3 separate regions of the Homo sapiens genome follow, and regions 2 and 3 are each linked to region 1. Evidence: promoter capture Hi-C in human tissues and cell types (Jung and others, 2019). All regions are on one chromosome and are shown on one strand. The core of a region is centred on a gene start or on the middle of the fragment in contact, and the rest is flanking DNA. Distances in the headings are between cores, read along the strand shown.

Region 1 (4,381 bases), core at 1,449-3,948:
TCCTTCTTAAGGTTTAAGAAAACATGAAAACCACAAAGAATGTCTGAAATTATTTTCTCTTGGTTGGCGGAACAGATGCCTTTCATCAAGGAAAATGCCTTTGGCCAAAACAAAGCCATATTCATTTAAAATATATTGTTTAGTAATTGCACAGACTCTGGATTATATAAAATTTACTTTCAATGCAAAGATTTCATTTTTCTAGAAAAGGTTAACAAGCAAAATAGAGCAGGAAGACAGGCAGAGGATAATGTGTTAAAAGAATCAACTACGTCAAGGGCAAGAGCAGTTCAAGAAATGACAATGCAAGTACATTGAAAGGAAATTGGCCAATGTGGATGTGATTTTGTCTAGGGGTCATTCAGGAACACCTGGCTGACTTTATTTATAAGGCGATTGTCAAATCAATCTGTAGAATATGGATGAGGTGAAACGCAGAGGTAGAGTATTATTCTAGATCATCTGTAACTTTTCAAATACAACTATCGCACTGAAATTCCAGGGAGAATGTAAGTGACTCCAATAAAGAAACCTGTCAGTCAGTCAAGAGTGTTTATTTATTATCCCCCTGTGCCAAGCAATATTCTAGCCAATATGAAATGATACAAAATAAAGAGTAGTCATCACCCTTCCAATCTCCTGAGAGCAAATGGATTACATTTGCAGACACACACACACACACACACACACACACACACACACACACCCCACCTCTATGTGGGTGGTCAGGAAACTCAACTATATGGACATATAACAATTTCATTTAGAAAAGTGCTGATTAGAAAACTAAACTTACAAAATTAGAAAAACTGGAGAATAATGAATTTTATGAAAAATAGATTACAATGGATTCATAAGGCATGCCCTTTATTTAAGTCCCATTATGTTATTAAAATTGGGAATAACCCTTCACCCTCACAAATTTACAAAATATTTTTGGAACACATTATGCAAATATGGAGTCACACTGGTGTTGTGGAGCTGCTAACTCGAATAAAATACCATACTTGATAAAAAACCTTCTGTCCACTAAACTGTAAATGCCTTAAAGTCAAAGATCAGGCCTTATTTGCCTTTAGTGTATATTTAGTACTCTGTAGATAGAAGTGGTAAAGGGATAAGAATGAATGAATGAGACAGGCGGGTGAAATTTTCAAGAATGAGACAGATGGGTGAAGTTTTCAAAGGTTTCTAAAAGGGAAAAACAAGAAGACTAGGATATTCCAAGCAGAAAGGTCTGGTTGGTTGGCCCCAGTTGGTGTTCGCATATAAGAAGAGGGCTTGGCATTTTCCTCACCACTGAAGAAGGATCAGCCCCTGGTTTGGTCCAGTAAGAATATGTTCTTGCCCAAATGCCACTCCTTAGTTTCAGGGACATTGCTATTTTGGTTTTCTGTTCCAGCCCAAGTGTTCTTGATGGTCGAATTGTTTGCATTGACTTTTTTTCCACAAGAAGTTGGGTGATATTGCTGATTTGCCTGCCATGGCACTTCCTTGTTTTCATTTTGATTATTACTCAAAAATAGCTTCATTTTAAAATTCAACTTTTCTGACTCTCTGCTTGTGCCTTTAACACATTGACAATGATTTTCTGCTTCTCCACAAAGAAAGCACGTTGGATCCTGTCACAGACATATTTAGCAGACATGGAACCACCATAAGCCCTGCTTGGCATGTGTGTTTCATTTCAGACTACCTCATGAGAACTTTAGGTCTTAAAGCATCGGCCTCTCTCTCCAAGTCAGCCTGAACACAAGCCACAAGAGATTTCAGTTCTTTCTCGACCTTTTTGGTGTAAATGTAAACAATTCTATCACCAGGGGTTCAGGGCAGCCTAGTTTTGTTAGAGGCTGTATTGTAGGAAAGTCCAAGGTTGCAGGATCATTCTGAGTCCCTTAGACACCATTCTCAGAAGAGCTTGCTATTAGCTTAATGCTGCCCAACTACTACGTATGCTTCACGAGGGCAGGGACTTTTGTCTGTTTTCACTGCTACGGCTCCAACCTCTAAACAGTGCCCGACATAGTAGGCATTCAGTAAATATAGTACTTGTTAAATGGATGTTATTTTGGCTGCCTTTACTTTTGCTTTATTTGTCCTGCTTTACGGAGCTGGAAATTGGAGGAAAGCCTTTGAATTCATTTCCCTTCTTCCTTCTGTTCTGAAACTCTGGCCAAGGGTCCTAGCAAAGACCTTAGGGAGTGGGGAGCCCTCCTGGAAACTAATGACAAGTCAGGCGACAGGGGGCGGGAGAAGGAGAGCTGCAGGAAGTTCTTTCCCACTTACTTCTGCAGCACCCTTCACCACCCATCGTGCTCTGTATTTGGGGTTAGAGGTGTTCCGTGGAAGGGAAAGCAGGGGCCGCCTTGGCCGCGTTCCTCTCCTGGGCCACCGGGGTCTTGCCCACAGCGAGTCCCGCAGCACCCCCTGTCTGCGCAGCACCTGTTGACAGCCAGTGGGCGGCCAAGCCCGCTCGCGCGGACGCGTCCCAGGGCTGCCCCTCCCAGAGGCGCTGACCCCCGCCCGCCCCATCGGCCGCCTGCGGGAGAGCCGCTGAGCCGCCCCCGCTCGCCAGGCGCGCGCTCCGCCCGGGCTCGGCCCACGGCCCCCACCTCCTGTCTGCCGCCCGGCGGGGGGAAGGTAGAGAAGGGGAGGGGACAAGCCGGATCCTCCCGGCCGCCCCGGCCTTCCCTCTTCACCCCGTGCGGAGACGCCGCGCGTAGCCCCGAGGTTAGCGCGGAGCCCGAGGCGTGGGGGGAGGGGACGGGGAACAACCGGAGCCCCGCGGTGACCCCGAGCGGCCGAATTGCCCCAGGCTTTGAGGAGCGGGGGACGAGCCCGAACAAGGTGAACTTTGGTCGCGGAAAACTCAAGCCAGGTGCCGGAATCCGTGCTGCGGCGCTCCGAACCCGGGGCCAACTGCGCTCCGGGCTGAGGAGCGGGAGCCCCGCGGCCTCTCTCCGCCTGCGCCCGGGCCGCCGTCGGCCCGGAGCCCCCCGGCCCCGCTCCGGCGCCCCGGCCCGTGGGACCCGCCGCGGCGCCCTCGCCTTGTTTCTTCCCCCTCCCCCTTCGGGGGTGGGGGGTGGGGCGGGGGAGAGGGGCGCCCGGAGAGCCGCATCTATTGGCAGCTTTGTTATTGATCAGAAACTGCTCGCCGCCGACTTGGCTTCCAGTCTGGCTGCGGGCAACCCTTGAGTTTTCGCCTCTGTCCTGTCCCCCGAACTGACAGGTGCTCCCAGCAACTTGCTGGGGACTTCTCGCCGCTCCCCCGCGTCCCCACCCCCTCATTCCTCCCTCGCCTTCACCCCCACCCCCACCACTTCGCCACAGCTCAGGATTTGTTTAAACCTTGGGAAACTGGTTCAGGTCCAGGTTTTGCTTTGATCCTTTTCAAAAACTGGAGACACAGAAGAGGGCTCTAGGAAAAAGTTTTGGATGGGATTATGTGGAAACTACCCTGCGATTCTCTGCTGCCAGAGCAGGCTCGGCGCTTCCACCCCAGTGCAGCCTTCCCCTGGCGGTGGTGAAAGAGACTCGGGAGTCGCTGCTTCCAAAGTGCCCGCCGTGAGTGAGCTCTCACCCCAGTCAGCCAAATGAGCCTCTTCGGGCTTCTCCTGCTGACATCTGCCCTGGCCGGCCAGAGACAGGGGACTCAGGCGGAATCCAACCTGAGTAGTAAATTCCAGTTTTCCAGCAACAAGGAACAGAACGGTGAGTCTTTCCCCCATTCTCCCCCTGCTTGTTTCTCGCTGTGTGTGTTAACGTTGGCATTGTGCGTTGGTATGTGATATATACCAGACTGTGAAGGTATCTTTGGTCTCTCATTACATGCAAATGTGCGCTGCGTTCATTGGCATGGACTGTTAAAGGTTAAGTGTAGTTTGCAACTTCGGGAGCTGCCACAAAGCTCCAAGAGGGCAACGTGAGTGCCACTGCTGAGTGAGGACATTCTGGGAGCGATTGTGAACGTCATTTCAAATGCACATTGCAGGTTCGCTCATTGCTAAAGTTAGAAGTTCAAGAACTGCCTCTAAAAACGAATCCAAAATGAATGAGCCTTGGCATGTTTGACTTTACTCAGATTTGGGGAGGGCGAGGGGGGTCGGTCAGGAAATATATCAGCCGCATTAATTGAAGCACTCTAGGTCGAAGTCATCAATTAATCAATGAGTAGATAGGAAATATAGAGGTCAAGAGGCTGTGTGGTCGTTTTTAGAGGAATTAAAAAGTGTATTTCTCTTGCTCCCTAGTTTTTGTTTTTTAAACTTGCCTTTGTACTCTGAAGTCCTTACCTTTCTGGTGGTGTGTTTTTGTATGTGTTGGTGAATGACTGCTATTTTGTGTGTGCTGGAAACGACTTAATCCTGCATAGGAAATGAGA
Region 2 (4,693 bases), core at 1,864-4,363, 320 kb after region 1:
CATCTTTATGAGTTGTCTAGTTTAGATCTTTGAGGCTGCTGATACTTGGATGGGGTTTTTGTGGGGACTTTGTTGTTAGTGCTGTGAACATCTCTTCATTTTCTTGACCATTTGTATGTTTTCATTGCAGAAGTATATATTTAAGTGTCTTTCCCATTTTTAATAGGGTGATTTCATTTTCTTTTGCTTTCGAGTTGTGGGAGTTCATGATATCTTTTGGATATTAATCCCTTACTAGATATATGGTTTCCAAATATTATCTCCCATTCTGGAAGTTGCATTTTCACTCTGTTGATTGTTTTCTTTGCTGTGCAGAAGGTATTTATTTTGATATAGTCTCATTTGTCTATTTTTTATTTTGTTGTCTGTGCTTTTGATGTCTATCCAAGAAGTAATTTCCAAGACCATCTCATAAAGCTACACTCCCACATGTTCTCTTCTAGGATTTTTACTATTTCAAATTTTATGTTTAAATCTTTAATACATGTTAACTTGGTTCCTGTGTGTGGTGTGAAATAAGGATTCACTTCTGTTCTTTGATGTGTATACACAGCTTTCTGAAAGCTTCTTATAGAAGAGGCTATCTTTTCCCCATTGTGTATTCTTGCCACCCTTGTGAGCAATCAGTTGATCACACATGCATAGGTTTATTTCTAGACTTTATTCTGTTCCATTAGTCCATATATCTATTTTATATCAGTACCATACTGGTTTCATTACTGTAGGTTTGTAATATGTTTTTAAATCAGAAAGTGTAATGCCTCTAGCCAATCTATCTCACTTTTAAAAACTTTGGACCTTTTAAAATATGAATCTTTTAAAGGCTTTTGCACTTGTTTTACATGAAATTCTTCTCAGTCTTTTTGAGTTTTTCTGCAAATGCCATACTTTTTGAACAATTATTCTGGCTGCTTGGTGACTTGCACAAGTATTTAGCCTACAGAATGAGCTTTCCTTTTCCCTGTTCTGCAATGTTTTCTAAGACCCTTTAGTTTTCTTTCTTTTTTTTTTAATTCTTATTTGAAATAGTAGAGATGTCTGCAGGTCTGGTGTTTCTTATAAACACGCCATGTTGACTGCCCCATCCTTAATTCACTGATATCATATAGATTTTTCTAGCACAACTAAATCAACTAAGTCATTGTACTATCTGATATTAGTATGCACAACTCCTAGCCCAATTCTGAATAAAATCTTATCTTTAGAATAAATATTAGATTGCAAAGCAATGGGATATATAAAAATTACATCCACTTCTTAAAAATTTATTGAGAATTTTCATACCATCTACAAATCTTAGCTTGGAGGGTTACATTTTCTAAAATGTCATAAAATCACTCCAATCTTTTTTTTAAACACATTGTATTCTCTTCCTGTTTACTTTCTTTCTTTAGGCTTTATTTTCCAAAAGAATGAAAGAAGTATGAGTGTGTGTGTGTTGAGGTGTTGGGGTGGAAGGTAGGATTAGATTTAGATTAAGAAAGAGGGTGCTTTGGATCAATTGAATGCACCATCTGTTAAGTAGTGGGGTAACTGGTTTTCTTGTTGGTATGTATCTTGCGCAGCTGACCCAGTGGACAGAGATGAAAAGGAAGTTACCAGGTCTTTCCATTTTTCTTTCAGTGGGCAGGTTCTCCACACTTAGACCATCAATTGTACTTTTTGATTTAATCCAATCTGCTTTGTTGTATATAGAATCTCTTCTGAATTGACTTTCCTAGTTTTCAGTTTGGGTTTTATCATTTTTCTGGCTTTCTTAGGCAGTGTGTAGGAAAGTTGTGTGAAATGGCCTTAGGGATAGCTATCCTGATATTTTCTAATTTGATGTTTTGTTTTATTATTTTAATTTGGAAAAGACACTTTTAACAAGCTTGACAACTTTGTTAATCATCCAAACTAGTAACAGGAAGGCCAATGAAAGGAGGTGTAGGGAGTTTGGCCGGGAGCAGACAGAGTGACAGTAATGAAAATTTTGATGTTACAGCAAGATAAATAATTATAAGTAGCAGTAGAAAATGTAAAAGCACATTGAAAATTATATCCAGAGATCTAAATAGGTTTTATAATCAATCTATCATTAACAATATTTTAAACTCTATTAAAAATTATTTCAAATGTGATAATGTGACTAACAGTTTGGTTATAGAAAGATAAACATTTGAAAATTCCTTTTTTAAGAAAATTAATTTTTAAAAAATGTTGTAGATACACAGTAGGTGTATCTATTTAAGGGGTACCTGAGATGTTTTGATACAGGCATGCAATGTGAAATAAGCACATCATGAAGAATGGGGTATCCATCCCCTTAAACATTTATCTTTTGAGTTACAAACAATCCAATTACATTCTTTAAGTTATTTCAAAATTTAATACTTCATGGGGCTTCATTTTATCATCTAAAATATTCACAAAAGAATATCCAATTCCTGTATATTTTTTACTGTATTAGATATTATCATGTATATGTGTATATACATGCACTATCCATGCACACACACACACACACACACACACATATATTTACATATATATATATACACATATTTGCCTTTGACTATTTCTTGTTGCACTTTAATTTAGAAGTGAATATGACTGGTATTAAGATCCATGAGTATAGGTAAAAACATGACACCCCACAACAAAATGGGGAAACATATGATAGGGTTTGTATTTGATATTTTCCTCTACCATCTGGAAAGTATGCTGAAATTTTTCTTTTTGGGATTTCCAGACAGTCTGACTAGTCTGACATCTTTGTTCAAAAAAGATAAAAAGTTCCCTTAAAGCTATGTGGAGCTGTCTCGGCAGTTGCTGTAGTTTCCATCCACCTACTTTTTTGCTTCGTTGTTTAAGGCTATGTCCCAGTGACTCTGAAAGTTATAACCTGCCTTATTTCAACTTGCTTAACAAAAGCTTTCAGGGCATCTTGCTTTCATCTACACCATGCACATGGTCACATTTTTTAATGGAAATTCCAGGGCTGAACACTGCCATGGCATTCTTTTACCTCAGTACTTGGACGGCAATGCAGAGAATGGAATACCAAGGTTACAACATAATTGTGGAAAGCTTCATACAGAGTTTTGAACCGATGTCTATGAACCAATGTGATATCAACATCCAGATCAAAGTCTGTCTTAAGTCTCACATGGTCTGAAGAGATTTTCCACCAAGTACAATGAAAATCCATAATGGGAAGAATATATTTTTGTATTTGCAAGTTGTGTGTGTGTGTGAGAGAGAGACTTCATATATATGCATCTGTGTGTATGTTTGAAGTGAGAGAGGAAGGGAAAGGGAGACAGAGATAGAGAGAGATGTGTGCCTGGATGGACTGAGAAGTGTCACCACAGCTTTGAAATAATAATTGGACAATTTAACAGTACACAGAATTTGCAAAGCACTGAGAAGTTTTGGCATTTGATATTAATTGAAGTTACAAATATGATCATCTGTTCTGTTGAAATGTTTTAGCTATGTTGTCTCATAGTAAATTCTTAATACTGCATTCCAATGCTATGTAATGGTGGAACATCATTCTCAGCATCATTTGATGATGCTCCAGCTTTAAACTATTAATACTTTAGCCCGCAGCATCCTTGAATCCAAGCTCAACATATGTGCTTAACATACAAATTTATTGATGGGTAGTATTTATTTAAAAATTACAATCTAAGATCCTAAATATTTCATGCCAGATTTTATAGTTATTTAGAAAAAAATGGGCAAGATTTTACCTGATGTCAAATATCTAAAAGCTCTGACTCTTTGTCAGGAATTCATTATCTTTAGAGAAGAGGTAGGCTCCAAATGAATAAATATAGTCTAAACTATGTCAGGTTCAAAGAGGCTGTCAGAGTAGTTTTGTGTGAGGTAATTCCAAGATTCTGCCTAATTTATAACATAATAAGTAAAGATAATCTTTCACCAGGGGTATGAGATGGAAGTTGAAGAACTGTATTTTGGAAAAATAATATGTACCCTCCATATTTCTTTTCCTTTTTCCTTGATTTACTTCAACAATAATGATATGATGTATTTACTGAGAATGATTTTTTTATAGCAATGCTTTAGAAATGAACTGGAAACCAACTTCTCAGAAAATTTGTCCCTATGACTACAATGCAGATGAGAAGTATGTGTGTATTTTGGTTCTTTGACTCTTGATTCGTTTCTCAAGTGTTCTTTGAAAAGCGATAAATTCACTTATATTTTCAGAGAGCAGCAAACCTTGGAATTAAATCATCATGGAAATAAAATAAAAAGCAAAAGAAGATGAGCCATCCTTAAGGGGATTCTGGAAGGGTCCTTTGGTAAAATGATTTTTTCAATATCCCAGTGACATTACCAGCAATCTCACTCAATGGAAAATAATTGTAGTATCAAATTTTCTCAAGGAATGAAAACATCTCTAATATAGTGAACAGGTCATTCAGTCCACAGAGGTGGCATCGGAAAATGGCCCTTCTTTTCCTTTTGTGAGCTTCCCCTTTCCTAAATGGTAGTTTCTCAATCACAACACCTAGTTGCTTGCCACAGAAATGGAAATTGATCTCTGCTAACTAATCACTGATCCCATCTCACTGGCTTTGGTGATTGTCCAGTTTTGCCATATAATCCAGGCAGAGCCAATCAAGGCATTTTTGGGGGAAATTATATGTATACCAGGGGAGAAAGGATCTCCATTCCTCTG
Region 3 (4,677 bases), core at 1,215-3,714, 440 kb after region 1:
TAATTTCTTCTTGACCTTTGAGTTACAAATGGTTTGATACTCTTACACTTTCCAAAGACAACATTTACACTTTAAATATTGATTGAACCATAATTTACAAAATCAGCATAAACAATTTTTGTCAATATTTACAAATATCCATTTCTCTTCTACTCCTTAAGTCACAGTAGTCTATATTTTATAGTCTTCCCTGTATCTAAATAGATCAATGTGATTAAGTTTTGGTCCATGTAACATGAGGAAAAGTGACATACTCCTGCATTTCCATGCCCAGACATGAAACATCCTATATAATCTCCCATGCTTTTTCTCTAGTTTGCTGGGTTCTTAAGCAAAGATCATCCTATGCAATTTGCCATGCTTTTTCTCTAGTTGATTGGGTTCTTAAGCAAAGAATCTAAGAAGTTGGAGATAGAAGGATATCAAATCTCTGATACACTGTTTGGAGAAGAGCCACCTACAAGAAACAGTGGATGAAGCTCATTGACTTTGGATTTTGTGCTAACGAGAAATAAACATTTCCCATACTAAACCACTGTAATTTTAGGGTTCTTTATTAGAACAGCTAGCATTGCTTATCCTGATTTAGACAGAATATCTCAGTAAATGAATTCAGTTTGTTACAGAAAAAGAGCTTTTATTTTAGCTTTTCTAAACTGAAGACCGTTAAATAATGTTTATCCCTAAAATAAGCCCAGAAATTATGGGAAAAAATAAAGTTAAACATATAGGGCTTCCTGGAATCTAATAACGTAAATTTTCAAGAAGATGGCCATGGAACACTTTGATATAAAGGCATCTTTATTAATATCTATCGGAACAACATCCTCCAAAAACCAGTTTTCAATAAGAAAATGGTGATAAAGAATTTTACTAGGCAAGTTTATTAAAAGCTTAACTGTTTTTAATGGAGCATAATATTTACTTATACTAAATATACTTTTCTGACACTATCTTGGAAATAAAAATTGTATTGAAAACATTTTTATCATGTTTTTAAATGATATACAATACTAAAATATGAAAAGATTCCTTTGAGTAAGTTGTATACAGTGCAGCCAGATGATAAAATTTAAAACAAACCAATAATACTAAGACCTAAAGAAGCACGTTATAATCCAGAAGTGGAATGAGCTGTCACAGCCGACAATATTCATGCAAAGAACATTCATATCTTCATGTATTCCTCACATTATCCAAGATGTTTTCAGTATTGTTTTAAACAATTTTATTTCTCAGTGATTAAAGAGAAGGTAGATAAAAATAACGTAACCATATTTTCTATTTTTAATTTTGTGATGTTTTTTCCTGAACTTTCCTTTGGACAGCAAGATAATACCATTTCTATACTCAACACTATGTCACTGAATGTGCCCCCTGCCACAGGCTGACACCTGCGTAAGAGAATAAAGAATCATTCAGCCAATTAAAAGAGACAATTCCCTCCATTCCAGTTATAGGCCATGTTCAGTTTTAATGAAAACAGCTAAGAAGTATACAAATTAATTCTGATATCTTCTTATCATAGACTGACTTTTGTCTAGAGGAGAAAAAAGTTTTACTCTGTAAACTTCCTCTAATGGGATAGTTCCTCAGTTGCAGATTCAGGGAAAAATACTATTTCAACTTAAAAATAACACTCTTCCCTCTTCCTTTTAAGATAACATATTTCTTCTCTGTATTTTATAGTCTTTTCCAAGGATTTTCTTTTTCTGTGAAGTTTTTTCAACTCTCATATCTTTGAATTCACAAGTTAAAACTAATTTGTAATTTAAATTGATAAGTCCTGAAAGTAAATACTCGCTAAACTTCGTAGTACTTTTCAGTGAGATAAGAACAGAAACCAATGATAGGGCTGAGGGAGAGAGAAATTGTAAGAATACTAACCACAGGTAGCTAACTTGTACAGATATCACACAATAATAATTTCAACATTAATTTCAACATTTCTTCTAATTTGAAGATTTGTGCATGTTGAATTAATCATGTCGATTTAATTATTAATTCAACGTGCACAAATTGTCAAATTACAAGAATAAATGTTTCAGATATACCAGTAAACACTGCAAAGAACACTGATGCAAAATCTATCTGCAGAACAAGGTCAGTTCAAAGTCTTATTATAATCAATGTTGCTATTTGTAGCTTAGCTCGATTGCAACTTGATGGTGAGATAGCAGTTTCTCATCATTTACACATTACACATCAAAAATTTACACATTTTCTGCATAGCTTGCTTTTTAAAAAGTCATATTGCATTGTAAATACTAAAACCAAAGACAGAAACCAAGGGCATGCTGTTGTCCTTAATCAATCACAGTTACTGTTAACCATTATAAATACCAATATTAATGTCCAATACTTTATTATGCTCCATCACAAACATTTTATTTTAAACCTGAGTAGACATTGTGCTAAAAAGTTAACAAGTGCAAGACAAGTAATAGAGGTAAAATTCTAATTCGAATTAGCAAAGGAATTTATTGACATTCAGTCTAGAAATTAAAACTTAGTTTAAAAAATGGTAGTTTAAAAACTTAGCTTAAAAATTGCATGATTAAGAGAGTTGATGACTTGAACTTCAACACTGATAAAGTTAGAGATTTTTAGAGTTGAAAATAAACTATTAGCACCCATCTCCTAGTTAGTAATTGAATCATTCTGTAATGTCTCCCCAAGTAGTCAGAGAGACTTCATCAATACCTGAAGGTTTCCTCCTGATATGGTTAGGGCTTGTTTCCCCACCCAAATCTCATCTTGAATTGTAATCCCCAGGTATTTATGGAGAGACCTGGGAAGTGATTGGATTATGGGGGTGGGTGCCCCCATGCTGTTATCATCATATTGAGTGAATTCTCATGAGATATGATGGTTTTATAAATGGTAGTTTTTCCTGCACTGACACAAACTTATTTTCTCGCGCATTCTGCCATAATTGTAAGTTTCTAAAGGGCTTCCCAGCCATGTGGAACCATGAGTCAATTAAACCTCTTTTCTTGATAAATTACCCAGTGTTGTGTATGTCTTTAAAGCAGTGCACGAACAGACAAATACACCTCCATAGGGAAAATACATCTATCTATTTCATTGGGGGACAGCTACATTTGTTTAAAAATTTCTTTCTTTTGTTGAATCTAAATTTTGCCCTACTTTTTCAACATTTAATGATTCCCAGTTTGACTTCAGGAAAAACTGAGGAGGAATCTAATCCATCTGGATTAGCATGTCTGAAGACAGAGGTATGGTACACTGAAGTCTTCCATTCTCCAGATTAAATTGTCCCTTTCTTTAAAACAATTTATCTTATAACATGCCTTACTGTCTCAGGAAAACAACCATTCTCTTGTGTATGCTCTCCTGTTTGCAAAGCACTTTTCAAATGGATGATCTAGAATTTGATCCAACACTCCCAGTATAGTTTGACCCAGGCAATGTTTTATTTGGTGCTTCTCTGGTGCTACAGATGGAGCACTGTCTTCCTTGGGAGACACATTAAATAGAGGAATATTGAGCTTCCAATTATGTTAAACTGTACTATTAAGCCATCCATCTTTTTCTAATACTTATGAAGTTGAATTATTGGCTTGAAATGCAAAAATGTTAAATCTGTTAAATTTCATTTTCATTGATCTAGTCAATTGTGCCAGACCACTGATTCTTTTTGTCCATCTCTGACAACTAATAAAAGGGTTAGAAAACTATGGCCTGTGGGCCAAATCCAGTTCACTGCGTGTTCTGTAAACAAAGTTTCATTGTAACACAATCATGCTCATTTGTTTATAAACTGTCTATGGTTGCGTTTCTGCTGTAACAGGGAAGTACTTATGACAAAGACTGTATGGCCCACAAAACTTAAGATATGTACTCTCTTGTCATTTACAGAAAAAGTTGTTTACAACTGAATTGGTATATCAGCTGTCTCTTCCTGTTTCCTGCAGATTTAGTGATAATTCATCTGTCTTCTCACGAAGACTGTGGATTACAAGGTCAGTCCACAAACTGGACATTCATAAATAATAATGAATTCATTAATTTGCATTAATTCATTTCACCTGATGTGATGGCAAATAATTAAACTGTCATCTAGCCCACATTTCCTGCTGTCATGAAGAAATACTTTCCTGAAACTCAGATATGCTTTCTGCTACTCCTAGGCACAACAGTTCAGTAATTTAAAACTGGAAATGGCTTAACTGAAATGACTTCTTAGTGAAGCCATGTTTGCTCTTAGAATTCATCAACTTCCTAAGTGCTTGTCTAGCCTATTTTTTCCCCAAAATATATTTCTCAGAAATAGTACTTGTAGAACTTGAATAAAGAGTTTCAAAGTCAAATAAGTTGATGAAATGCTACATTCTGCATTCGATATATTTTGTTGTGAGTTACAATGCACATTAGCATACTCAAAGGTCTGAGAAATTATACAGTAAATACACTGGTTTTAGATGATTTCAACACATTCTTTCCCCACATTACTTAACCATAGAGCCTCCCTTTCTTATTATTCGGAAACTTTGGTGGAAGAAACTTTAGAAAAATTTGTAAATTCCTATGAGGAAGAATTTTAACACAGCCTCAGATGCTGAAAAACTATTTCTTGTGGGCTTTTAGATATTTGTGGACAATAAGCAGGAATAGTTTGAATTATGAGAATATCTCAGAATTTATAGTTCCATT

What was found. Contacts are between HindIII fragments. The study calls those that stand out against the background at their distance.
Region 2: a contact is called between a fragment that was not itself captured here and the fragment with the promoter of PDGFC in region 1, in 1 of the 25 tissues and cell types used here (heart right ventricle).
Region 3: a contact is called between a fragment that was not itself captured here and the fragment with the promoter of PDGFC in region 1, in 1 of the 25 tissues and cell types used here (dorsolateral prefrontal cortex).

Annotation. Positions count from the first base shown.
Region 1 is chr4:156,970,116-156,974,496 of GRCh38, reverse strand. PDGFC (platelet derived growth factor C) reads left to right here and starts at 2,698. Exons shown (of 6, transcript NM_016205.3): 1 at 2,698-3,711. The coding sequence starts at 3,594. RefSeq lists an enhancer at 2,411-2,911. The HindIII fragment of the contact is 11,394 bases long and covers 1-4,381 here.
Region 2 is chr4:156,645,670-156,650,362 of GRCh38, reverse strand. No RefSeq gene overlaps it. Among named protein-coding and RNA genes, the nearest start is that of LINC02272, 5.5 kb to the right of the region's middle. The HindIII fragment of the contact is 3,791 bases long and covers 1,218-4,693 here.
Region 3 is chr4:156,527,564-156,532,240 of GRCh38, reverse strand. No RefSeq gene overlaps it. Among named protein-coding and RNA genes, the nearest start is that of LINC02272, 110 kb to the left of the region's middle. The HindIII fragment of the contact is 4,616 bases long and covers 157-4,677 here.